Regions from separate parts of the Homo sapiens genome. Here regions 1 and 3 are each linked to region 2. The links are contacts of gene promoters, found by promoter capture Hi-C in blood cells and fetal thymus (Javierre and others, 2016). All regions are on one chromosome and are shown on one strand. Each heading gives the region's core, a stretch centred on a gene start or on the middle of the fragment in contact. The rest is flanking DNA. Distances are from core to core; before and after follow the strand shown. Region 1 overlaps BASP1-AS1 (BASP1 antisense RNA 1). Region 2 holds the start of RETREG1 (reticulophagy regulator 1). Region 3 overlaps BASP1-AS1 (BASP1 antisense RNA 1).

Region 1 (3,928 bases), core at 102-2,601, 570 kb after region 2:
TGTGTGTATGTGTGTGTGTGCACGTGTGCGTGCACGTGTGCTCGTGTGTGTGCGCATATATAGCGTTAAGTGCTCCGGCTTCAATATCCAATGATGTGGGTTCTAATTTCGGTTTTGTACTCACTAGTCTGTGAGACTTTGGTCAAGTTACTTTTTTGAAGGCTTGTTAACTCTTCTATAAAATGTGGACGGCAGTACTTCTATAGCATGGGGTTGTTGTGAGGATTACATGAGAAGATCCATATGAAGTGTCTAGCACATTTCTGGTGTAACTCAGTCGACGTTAACTATGATCACATTTGGGCTGCTCACTTGCCTTTTCAAATCCCCCACCATTTGAAAAATGTCAGTGTTCTTTGGCACCACACAACCTGCTCCTGACAGTTCCCAGCTTCCTTAACTCTGGGGCATGCATTTCTACCACAGGCCTGCCCCACTTTCTGGCAACAACCTCCTAATCTATCTGCTCCTTCTCCCTGCCTGGGTCACCTCCTTCCTGTCTACCATGTCCTTGTCTCCCCGTAGCACTAGCCTAGGACCCTCCAACCTCAGCCAGATAGTCTACTTTCACTGAGACCTACACAGTTTGTGGTGTGTACCTGACTCATCTTGTGTGACTGTCATGTTTATTCTGTGGTTATATTTTTCATAATTCTTCCATTATAAGGATCCATATGGGGCTGAACCACTTCCTATACCCCACCCGCATTCCCACAAGCTGGATCGCATGTGAAGAATCTGATAATCTCTCTCTCATCTGGAGATTTGGTCTTAGTTCAGTAATGCCCCTGATCCAGGGAGTTAGTTGTCTAGGACACAGACTTGGCAGGGAGGTGAGGTGGCACTTTTCAGTGGCCATGACTCTGTAGCTGGGAAGCAAGGAAGCCACAGGGTGGTCTTGATCATGTGAACCAAGCCCGTGAGCTTGGAGGAGGGGTGGCACAGGGCCTGTGAGCGGTGGACACGCTCAGCCATGTTTCTGTGCTTCTGAGTTTTAGGCTTGTTAAATTTTCTTGATGTTCTTTGATTTCCCTTTCTCCTTTCTTTAGTAGCTTTGGAAATTCCAGTCTGTTTCACTTCTGCTGAAACACAGCAAGGATAAGGGAATTTTCCCTGGTGTGGCTCCATCTTTAAGATGACACTTAACTTTGGGAGGCAGAATGCCAGGGGCAGAGGGAGTCCGACCGAGGGCTCTCTATGGTGATCCCCCACCTGTGGCACACAGAGGATGCCCAAGTCAGCGAGCTGAGACCTTCCTGTCCCAGGGACGTGTAGAGCCAGGGAATTTGGGGGAGAAGATTTGGCTTGGCTTGTGCCTTATCTTTCCCATCATTCTGAGAGGTGAAGTGGCTCTTTCTCAGAATGGAATGGAGAGGAAGGAAGATTCTTGTGGTTACTGGAGAATTAGAACATGACAAGGTACTCGCTCCATTTTGTTTGAGATTTTATGAATTCTCAAAATATCAGAGGCATTTCTATCAAAAAAAAGAGAAAGGTCCCCAAAAGGCAACTCTTGAGTGACCACCATTTTGGAGGATTTATTCATTCTTGTCTTGTAGGTGGGTAATAAAGAATAAAATATAATTGTATAATACTTTAAAAAGACTATACAGGCAGTTGGGAGTCCGTCCACCAGGCTCTGCTCACTCGCTGAAAGGCAACGTGATTTACTATAAGATGCTTAACTTTGCTGTATATTTCCTGAGGTTTAAAATAAGATCTGTACTTATCTTTTCCTTTAAACTGACATGAATAAGGGAACATTTATGTCAAATAATTTGAGCAACTCAAAGGAGCAAAGTGCTTTAAAAATGCCAACTGGACTGTGAAGTTTTTAGGTATTTGAGGAGATCTACAAAATGGACTGGAAAAAATGGGCATGTCTCCAGAAATCACCAACAGCTGTGCGTTTAAAGATAACTAAAAATAATATTTCATATTGAGAAATTGGAATATCGGGGTTGAGTAGACCGGAAAATAGGGAAGAAAAGGAGAAGACACAGAAAAAAAAAGCCTTAAAACTTCGTGCTTCAGCAGTTGAACCTCTCTTGATTATCATTCCCAGAATTCCATTCTACTTTTTCCATTTTTTTTTTTTTTTTGAGATGGAGTTTTGCTCTGTTGTGCAGGCTGGAGTGCAGTGGCACGATCTTGGCTCACTGCCACCTCCGTCTCCTGGGTTCAAGTGATTCTCCTGTCTCAGGCTCTGAGTAGCTGGGATTACAGGCGCCCGCCACCACACCCAGCTAATTTCTGTATTTTTAGTAGAGACGGGGTTTTGCCATGTTGCCCAGGCTGGTCTCGAACTCCTGACCTCAGGTGATCCACCCACCTTGGCCTTCCAAAGTGCTGGGATTACAGGCGTGAACCTCCGTGCCCGGCCTACTTTTTCCAGATTTGGTCATGAGTTTCCTAGGGCTGCCATAATGAAGGACTACAAACTGGGTGACCTAAAACAAGAGATCTATTTTCTCCAATTCTGGAGAACAGGAGTCTGAAATCAAGGTGTGGGCAGGCCTGGTTTCTTCCGGAGCTCCTTCCATCTCTCCCAGCTGCTAACAGTCCTTGGTGTTCCTTGGCTAGTGGACGCATCACCCCCCTCTCTCCCTCTGTCGTCCCACCGCGTTCTGTCTCTGCATCTCAGTGTTCAAATCTCCTCTCCTTATAAAGACAGCAGTCACATTGGATGAGCGCCACCTAGTGGCCGAAGTTTAACTTGAGGACAACTGCAAAGACCCTCCTTCCAATAATGTCACATTGGCATGTAAAGAGGGGTTAGGACTTCAACATATTTTTTCGGAGAAGACATACAATTCAACCCAAAACACTGACCAAAACTTCACTTTCCCTGGGCGACCCCAGCATGGCAAGTTCTCTGCGTGAATAAGGCAGTGGTTGTTTAACAGGCGTGCCAGGAGGCTCAGGGAGCAGGAGCTACAGGGACCTGCATTGTATTCTAAGCGACATGAGGGCGCCTTGCTGTAGTTTCTTTCCTGGGTCTTATCATGCCTCTCCTAGCTCTCAGTTGCTCTTCAGCTTGCAATCCAAGACATGTATTTGTAGTTTAATGAACAAATCATATACTTAAAAAAATGGGTTAGTTTAATCTTAAAAAATCAAAGGCTTTAAAAAAGGGATCACAATGTATGTTTCTAGCCTCTTGCATTCACCTTTACCTTTCCTCCTCCATCTGCTACAGTCACAAGGAGAGCATCCACTTGACCTGTAGTCAGGGAGCACTGCTAAAGGTTGTATCTTCACTCAGCTGCAGTCAGCTTGTGACCGCAGATGCGTTATGAAATTAAATGTCCTCCTATTTTAAAGCTTCTACGAGTCATTAAAATTTTTTTGTTTATGGATATCATCAGGAGTGGTAGGGTGGGAGGAGGATAAGGGAAAGAGAAGAGGATGTTTTCAGCTGAGCAGAGGAAGCAAAGTTTGACATTTACAAGACCCGCATGTTATCTCTGGCCTGACCGTCTTGGTTCACATTCTTGTGTGGGTTCAAGTTTCCTGAGCACATGCATATTGACCTTAGTAAGAGGCCAACTCTGGATTGCCACGAGTCAGCTAACTCCTGCTGCCAGAAAATGGATTTTTTTTCTTCAGCAAGAAGTGCCTTGTGCAATTTTTCCTAATCAGGTCTGAAAAATAGTGACCTCTCATTTTGCAAAAACAGTTCACTATTGACAATATTAATAAAAACACGTGAGTTTACATAAATTAAGGGTTTTGGGTCTATTTCTGTGTGCTTTGACTGCAGTGCCTCCTAGTGGACACTTTTATGCTATACAAGTTTCTCATGGTTGATTAGTACTCACAGAAATGTTAAGAATGCATTTGAACAAACTCATTGTTTTCTACAGTAGGTTCCTCTTTTGTTTCTTGTTAGGTTTTAATTTTTCCCCAGCTAAGGTTCACTTCAATA
Region 2 (3,839 bases), core at 996-3,495:
AAACATTACTGCCTCAGTAGGAGACAGGTTAAGTAATTTGAGACATCCTTACAATAGAATTCTGAAGCAGCTGAAAAAGAACAAGGAAGCAATCACCAAGAAATACTAGGAAAAGGAAGAGCTCATATGTTATTCCACAATTTGCATAGAATATGGTGTATTTGCTGAAATGTGCACTATCTGGAAAGAGACACAGGAAACTAGCAACATTGCTGGCCTCCGTGAGGAAACTGGGCGGCCAGGGACTGGGATGAGAAAGAGATTTTCAAAATGCTTACCCTTTTGTACCTTTAAACTTTTGCACTGTGAGACTGTATTAGTTTTTTAAAGAAATAAAATTTAAAATTAAGAAATAAAATGTTAAGGCCGGGCGCAGTAGCTCACGCTTGTAATCCCAGCACTTTGGGAGGCCGAGGCGGACGGATCACGAGGTCAGGAGATCGAGACCATCCTGGCTAACACGGTGAAACCCCGTCTCTACTAAAAAAAATACAAAAAACTGGCCAGGCGTGGTGGCGGGCGCCTGTAGTCCCAGCTACTCGGGAGGCTGAGGCAGGAGAATGGCGTGAACCCGGGAGGCAGAGCTTGCAGCGAGCCGAGATCGCGCCACTGCACTCCAGCCTGGGCGACAGAGTGAGACTCCATCTCAAAAAAAAAAAAAAAAGAAAGAAAGAAAGAAAAGAAAAAGAAATAAAATGTTAAAAACATCGTAAACATTAGTGAGACACAGCCCTAAGACTATTAGACTATTGCCCAATCTAGCATAAGACAATATGTCCTTCTTATTTGAGTGCTCGCATTCACTCCATAATAAGATAGATTTGGAATAAACTCTATTCCAAACACAGATACCTAAGAGATCCAAAGTTAATTCACTTTCAGGGACCTCCGACAAGATACAGCTAGTTTTAAGAGAAAACACCAGGACTAGCAGAGATCTGAGGAAAATATTCATCTTGCTCAAGTTAACCTAGAAAATGACAGGCTGTCTATTTTGTGCAATTTATTTATTTCTCAACTTTAAGGTTCAGAAATCTCTGTCCTGTAACAAGGTATCTGTTACCGGAGTCTGATTATTCTGCACTGTGTAGGTCATGTTTGTTATGAGGACACTTAGCAAACAAAGAAGGTTTTTCTCCGCCCTCAATAGCGTGGTAACGGATGACAGGACACCACTTTCAACGAAGGAGACAGACATTTCCCTGGCCTTTCTGAAGAGCGCTTTTTGGAGAGACAAACCTGTTGCTCAGGGGCTGAGCATTCCCGTGTGTTCTCCCTGTACTTCACCTAAAAATATGCCTGTTTTCCACACTGTGCACACCCGGGGGTGGGTGCTGGGCATACTCCACCTGCTTGTTTGCCTCCCGTTTTCTCATCAGGGAGTAAACACAGTAAACCTAACGCTCCAGGGGAAGGAAAAAACAAATCATTCAGGGCCCATCTCAGGTGACTGATGAATGCGGCACCGTTTTGAACGGGTACCTAATCTGGTCCAGATATGCCTGCTGGGGCTGCAAGAACCAAGACACGTTCAAGCACGTTTGCTCCGGCAAGCTTGGGCGAGCAGGTCAAGACCTCAGAGTTTTAGAAAGCAGGGGCGAAGTTTTCAAGCACGATGGGAACACCTGTAGGTGCAGGTGCCTGAGGGTCGGCCGACCACCTCGCATCTGAGGCTGGATCCGCACACGGAGAACGACAACTGCTCACAGGGACGTGCGTCCGGAGGAAAGTTGCGGTGAGTGTCTACCTGTTCGAGACAGGTGGCCGAGAAAGTGGGGCAGGGCTGACAATTCTTCCTCCGCAGTGTCCCGCGGGCTCCCCCTGCACTGGGTCCCCGGGGCCCCGGGCGCCCCAAGGTCACCTGCCCTCCTCAGCGCCCCCACCTTGCCCAAGCTCTCACCAGAACAGCAGGTTGGCAGCGACGAAGCCGAGCAGGCTCCGCAGCGGCCTCTTCCAGCTCAGCAGCTCGTCGGCGCGGCAGCCCAGCCACAGCACCGGCTCCCCGAGCAGCCAGGTTACCGCGGCCGCCGCCCGGCCCGCGGCCTCCTCCACCTGCAACCCCGCGCCCTCCGCCGCCCCAGCTTCCTGCGCTTCCTCCTCCTGCTGCTGCCGCTCTGCGGGGGATGCCTGGGGCGGTGGCGGCGACGGCGGCGCCTGCTCCTCGGCGGCAGGAGCCGGGCATCCCTCCTCGGCGTGCTCCGGAGGCGCCGGGCTCGCCATCTTCAGCTGTGCTTCCAGACAGGGACGGGGCCGGGCGCGCGCGCGGGCGCGCCTGGGTGTGGGTGCCGCCGAGGGCGGGGCGGCGGTGGCGGCAGGTCCCGGAGCGGGGCGCGCACCGCGGGGCACAGGCGGCTGGGGGCCTTGTGACGCCACAGGCCACGGAGGGGGAGCCGCCCGGGAAAGTGGGTGCGGCCGAGTTCGCGCAGGGGCGGGGCCGGGCGCCGGGAGCTGGGCGGTGTCCCCGGGGGGCTCTGGGTTCCTGGAGGGCCTCTCCGGGACTCGAGGAAAACGACCTTTTCCCTTGCAGCGGCGGGAGAGGGCGAAGTGGAGGACTGCTGCTCGGTTCCGTATCCAAAAGAGACCCAAGGCTCCAGGCAAAATAGATTGGACATTTTCACTTTCTCAAGCCAGGGCCACCGGTCGCCCAACCAGCAGCCACTGAGGGTGGTATCGGGGCGCCCCTTCCCCTGGCAGCGTATTTCAGCCCCCAGAGACATCCCCCACCTCGGCCATCCCCAGCGCCTTTGCAGGGACAGCAGCACAACCATAGCAGAGGTCCTGGGCATCCTGGAAATAACGTGCTGGTATAAATGTTGGATTGAGAAAGGAAGAAAAAACATTTGGGGTCAATTTGGGGCCCTCTCGTTTGACACGGGAGGAAACACAAGGCCGCAGCGTTGGGGGAAGCTGCTTCCTTTCTCTCTCTTCTTTCTCTCTGTCTCAGGTGCTTCCTTTCTCTTCTCTGTCTCTCTCTCTCTCTCTGCCTCTCCCTCTCTCTCCCCCGTCTCTCCCCCTATCTTCCCCTCTCTCCTCCTATCTCCCCCTCTCTCCCCCTCCTTGTGGCTAGGTGATCTGGCTCAGAAGTGCACGTTGGCCCGCGCGTGCGGGGAGCTGAGAAGCAAGAGATTGGAACTTTGCACGTGTCAAGCAAGGTTTGGCCTGCTTTGAAGACAGTAATTTCAGAGCCACTCCGGTCTCTGCGTCACAAGCGGGCATCAGGGCAGTGGTGGGGCGGCAGGGGATCCTGAGACCTCCCATGCCCTCTCTTTGGCCCCGGTGCTTCTGGGTGAGTGTGGGGAGAGAGGAAAATAGTTGTTTATGCTTTTCACCATTTGCATTTTTAAATTTTTGTCTTCTTTAATCTTCCTGGTCTTACTTTTACTCTAGAATGACAGGTCCTTCCCCCCCATACTAAGGGTTCTGTCTGCGGATGCATCAGGGCATCTCATATCCCTTTACTGGCAACCAGCCTGCCTGCACAGGATGGAAGGGAGGGCAATTAAATTCCCTGCGTCAAGGGAGTCTCTAGGGGAATGTTCTGTAACGCTCCTCTGGGTGGCCATTGTAAACCTCTGTGTATACACACGTGGAATCCATTGATCTGTACATTCACTGCAGGTGTCTGCACTTTACTGCTTGTATGTTGTACTTCAAAGGAGTTATATTCCCAGAGCCCAGGCAAAGGCTTACTGAGCACCTACCGAGTACACAAAGCATTGCTAAGCTCTGTGGATGCAGCTTCCACCCACAGGAAGCTCCCAGTCTGATGAGGGCCCAGTTACAATTGTGATATCTGCCACAGCGAAGAAGCCTTCGCTAAGTGCTAAGAGATTCCTTAC
Region 3 (4,163 bases), core at 1,410-3,909, 590 kb after region 2:
CTAGCGGCACCCTGTACCCACTACCATCCTCTCCTCATGATCGCAGGGCTGGCTCTCATGGCTCAGCTCTCCTCCTCCTACACACCTTCCACAAGCGTTCATTAGAAAGCGGCCCCTCCTGAGAGGAAGCACTATCTGGAGTGACCTTATTCTTTTTACCTCTTATGCCTGCAAGCCTTGCGTCTGCCCTGTTTGTTGCTGAATTCCCAGCACTCAGGAATCGTTTCCAGTGTTTAGTAGGTGACTCAAATTATGTTTAGTTTGCATATGTTTAAAATTCATGTTGCCATAGTGGCCACCCCATCCCCTCCTGGTGTAGGGGCAATCTGGTATTGCAAAAACAGAAGCAGAAAGGCGTTGAACTGACTGGAGCAGCATCTTTGGCACTGAGAAGATCCTTTAACCTCAATATGTCTTAGATTTTCAATTTATAACATGAAGAAATTGGACTACAGTGCAGATGACAATGACATATCAGCTTTGGGGTGAGATCAGATTAACTGGCAGTAGAATCTGGGGCATAGTATTACGAAATACTTTTTAGCCACAGAAAGAATGCTTTGATTGATTGATATTGATTGGTTATCAATACCTACCCCGAATGTGGGAGGGGACTTGGCTGTGTATTTTTGGACATGGTTTCTTTCAGTTCTAAATTTTAAAGAGTGTTTTAAAAAGCTTTTCAAAACATTGTTGTTTCAACTGAATTTAATTTAATTTAATTTTTTTTGAGATGGAATCTCGCTCTGTCACCCAGGCTTCAGTGCAGTGGTGCGATCTCTGCTCACTGCAACTTCTGCCCCTGGATTCCAGTGATTCTCCTGCCTCAGCCTCTCAAGTAGCTGGGACTACAGGTATGCACTACCACGCCTGGCTAATTTTTGTATTTTTAGTACAGACAGGGTATCACCATGTTGATCAGGCTGGTCTCGATCTCCTGACCTCAGGTGATCTGCCCGCCTCGGTCTCCCAAAGTGCTGAGATTACAGGCATGAGCCACTGTGCCCAGCCTCAGTTGAATTTTAGAATTGAACTAGACAAACTTTTGAAGGGTTCTCAACATGTAGTGATATAATAAAAATGAAATTCAGACTCAGAATTATTAAACTGCAGTCTTCAGGAATTAATCTAAGATAACTGAAAATACATCTGCATCTATTCATTTAGCCAGGATTCATCTGCTATCCTATATCATGAGGTAAAAGTATTATATTGTAGAATGTTAAAAAATGTCCCATTCAGAAAAATGTCGTGCACTAAACCTGGCATTTATTCTGCTTCCTATTTCATTTCCTTTTATCTCTATGCCTTTTAGTTGACTGACATTACTTGCTTTCTTCCCCCCATTTTGCTTCTCTACAAGGAGATAATTCCAGATTACATTGGCAGATATTTCAAGCTATATTTCAATTACTAGGATATTGTGAAATTCATGAGATTAAAATAAAATAAACCTCAGAAGGGAGTATAAGCCTCTCCTAATGGAAATTGGGATTAAATTCAAATGTCATCACCTTATGTCATAAATGTTTTGAGTGGATGAAAAAAACAATGAAATGTATTTAAATACATGAAAGAATGTACAGAGTTAACCTTAGTGAAAAGAAAAAATAATGATTTGAGAATGTGGAAATATTCACATGAAATTCTGTATATGACATGTTAAAAAATTAGAGAACTCTTTTTTCTCCATTTATTTGTTGCTCCCAGATAATTTCCTAAGGTAGATAAGATAATACATATTAAAGCAATTTGAGTTATTTGAAAGGAACCTTCAAACTCACATTATTATAGTTTAGGAGTGATTTTAGCAGAAGCAAATTATTAATGATACAGATCAGGAATGGGCAAACTGCTTCCCTTGTGTCAAGAGTGACCTGCTAGGTGTTATGTAAATAAAGTTTTATTGGAACATAGCCATGTCCATTTGTTGACACATTGTCTGTGGCTGCATCCTGATACAGTGGCAGTGGTGGGTAGTGTCAACAGAAATCTCATGGCTTTCAAAGCAAAATATATTCACTATTTGACCCTTTATGAAAAATTTTGCTGACTTCTGCTCTAGATTATCAGCATCTCTATCAGACTCTGTATTTCTGAAGGCATGGACTCTGTGCTTAAACTTAGTTTTCAACTGTTCTTAAAAAAATATGTTGGCCAGGTGCCGTGGCTCATGCCTGTAATCCCAGCACTTTGGGAGCCCAAGGCAGGAGGATCACCTGAGGAGTTTGAGACCAGCCTGGGCAACACAGTGAAACCCCGTCTCTACTAAAATACAAAAAATTAGCTGGGCGTGGTGGCAGACGCCTGTAATCCCAGCTACTCGGGAGGCTGAGGCAGGAGAATTGCTAGAACCCGGGAGGCAGAAGTTGCAGTGAGCCGAGATCCATCACTGCACTCCAGCCTGGGCGACAGAGCAAGACTCCGTCTGAAAAAAAAAAAAAAAAAAGTTAGGGTCGGGCGTGGTGGCAGCTCACACCTGTAATCCCAGCACTTTGGGAGGCCAAGGCGGGTGGATCACCTGAGGTCAGGAGTTTGAGACCAGCCTGGCCAACATGGTGAAACCGTGTCTCTACTAAAAATGATTCCAGTTACTTGGGAGACTGAGGCATGAGACTCGATTGAACCTAGGAGGTGGAGGTTGCAGTGAGACAAGATCGAGCAACTGCACTCCAACCTGGGCAACAGAGAGAGAGACTGCCCAAAAAAAAAAAGTCAGTACTTTTGAGATTATCAGTTAATGACAACATTAAGAAATATAATGACATGGCTGGGCCTGGTGGCTCACACCTGTAATCCCAGCACTTTGGGAAGCTGAGGTGAGTGGATCACCGGAGGTCAAGAGTTTGAGACCAGCCTGGCCAACACAGCGAAACCCCGTCTCTACTAACAATACAAAAAAATCAGCCGGGCGTGGTGGTGGGCGCCTGTAATCCCAGCTGCTCCAGAGGCTGAGGCAGGAGGGTCGCTGAAACCCAGGAGGCGGAGACTGCAGTGAGCCAAGATTGCACCACTGCACTCCAGCCTGGGCAACAGAGTGAGGCTCTGTCCCCCGCCAACCCACCAAAAGAAAAAAAAATATAGTGACAAACACAAGTTTATGCAGTGGGTGGCATTTTTTATACCAGTAGTTACATATGTCCTTTAGGCTAATTCCACTTCCCCACCCTCAGGTGGGGTCTTCAGCATCCCCATCCAAGAAGGAGCTCTGGAGGCTGAGGCAAGAGAATTGCTACAACCTGGGAGGTGGAGGTTGCAGTGAGCTGAGATCACGCCACTGCACTCCAGCCTGGGCTACAGAGCGAGACTCTGTCTCAAAAAAAAAAAAAAAAAAAAAAAAAAAAGTCAGGGTCCGGCGTGGTGGCTCATACCTGTAATCCCAGCACTTTGGGAGGCCAAGGTGGGTGGATCACCTGAGGTCAGGTGCAGGTGTCAGGTCCCTGGTCTTCCGGTTCGGATCTCCTCCCGGTGTTCCCCAGGAGCCACTTAGGGTGCCTCTGTGTGGATCCAGGGGGTTGCTGGGGAACAACTGCCCTCCTCCTGGCCCAGGTTGCCTCTTCCTTTCTCTGTGCTTCCTGCCTCTTGCGCTTCCCCCCAGCAATTTGCAGGCCCTTGAACAGGTTTTTTTAATAGGATTTTTAATTTTATTATTAATGAATTTTTAAAATTGAAAAGTAAAATTATATATATTTATGATGTATACGACATGATGTTTTGATAGATGTATACAGAAAATGTGAAATGACTACATGAAACTATTTAACATAGACATGGCCTCATATAGTGACTACAACTAGTAACAATATATTGCATACTTGAAAATTGCTAAGAGAATAGATTTTAAGTCTTCTCATCCTTCAGAAGATTTGAAATAGCTACTAACAAGACGTGGGGTGTCCATTGTTAGAGTCCCACCGTGCCCTTCCAGGCAGAAATGGTGGCCATAATGCTGTGGTTCATGCCTGTAATTCCAGCACTTTAGGAGGCTGATGGGGGTGGATCACCTGAGGTCAGGGGTTTGTGACCAGTCTGGCCAACATGGCGAAACCCTGTCTCTACTGAAAATACAAAAATTAGCCAGGCATAGTGATGCCTGTAGTCCCAGCTACTTGGGAGGCTGAGGCAGAAGAATTGCTTGAACGCAGGAGGTGGAGGTTGCAGTG

Evidence for each region. The method cuts DNA at HindIII sites, captures the fragments that hold promoters and counts their contacts. A CHiCAGO score of 5 or more calls a contact.
Region 1: a contact is called between a fragment that was not itself captured here and the fragment with the promoter of RETREG1 in region 2, in 2 of 17 cell types (monocytes and M1 macrophages). The highest score is 6.1, in monocytes.
Region 3: a fragment that was not itself captured here is called in contact with the fragment with the promoter of RETREG1 in region 2 in 1 of 17 cell types (endothelial precursors); the score reaches 6.5 in endothelial precursors.

Annotation. Positions count from the first base shown.
Region 1 is chr5:17,186,903-17,190,830 of GRCh38, forward strand. All of the region lies in intron 1 of BASP1-AS1 (BASP1 antisense RNA 1), which reads right to left. Among named protein-coding and RNA genes, the nearest start is that of BASP1-AS1, 29 kb to the right of the region's middle. RefSeq lists a silencer at 3,378-3,672. The HindIII fragment of the contact is 3,942 bases long and covers 1-3,322 here.
Region 2 is chr5:16,614,752-16,618,590 of GRCh38, forward strand. It overlaps RETREG1 (reticulophagy regulator 1), which reads right to left and starts at 2,246. Exons shown (of 9, transcript NM_001034850.3): 1 at 1,901-2,246. The coding sequence starts at 2,220. RETREG1-AS1 (RETREG1 antisense RNA 1) reads left to right here and starts at 1,175. Exons shown (of 4, transcript NR_109946.1): 1 at 1,175-1,735. RefSeq lists a silencer at 2,000-2,489. The HindIII fragment of the contact is 3,701 bases long and covers 1,553-3,839 here.
Region 3 is chr5:17,204,320-17,208,482 of GRCh38, forward strand. The region is part of intron 1 of BASP1-AS1 (BASP1 antisense RNA 1); the gene reads right to left. Among named protein-coding and RNA genes, the nearest start is that of BASP1-AS1, 11 kb to the right of the region's middle. The HindIII fragment of the contact is 3,966 bases long and covers 677-4,163 here.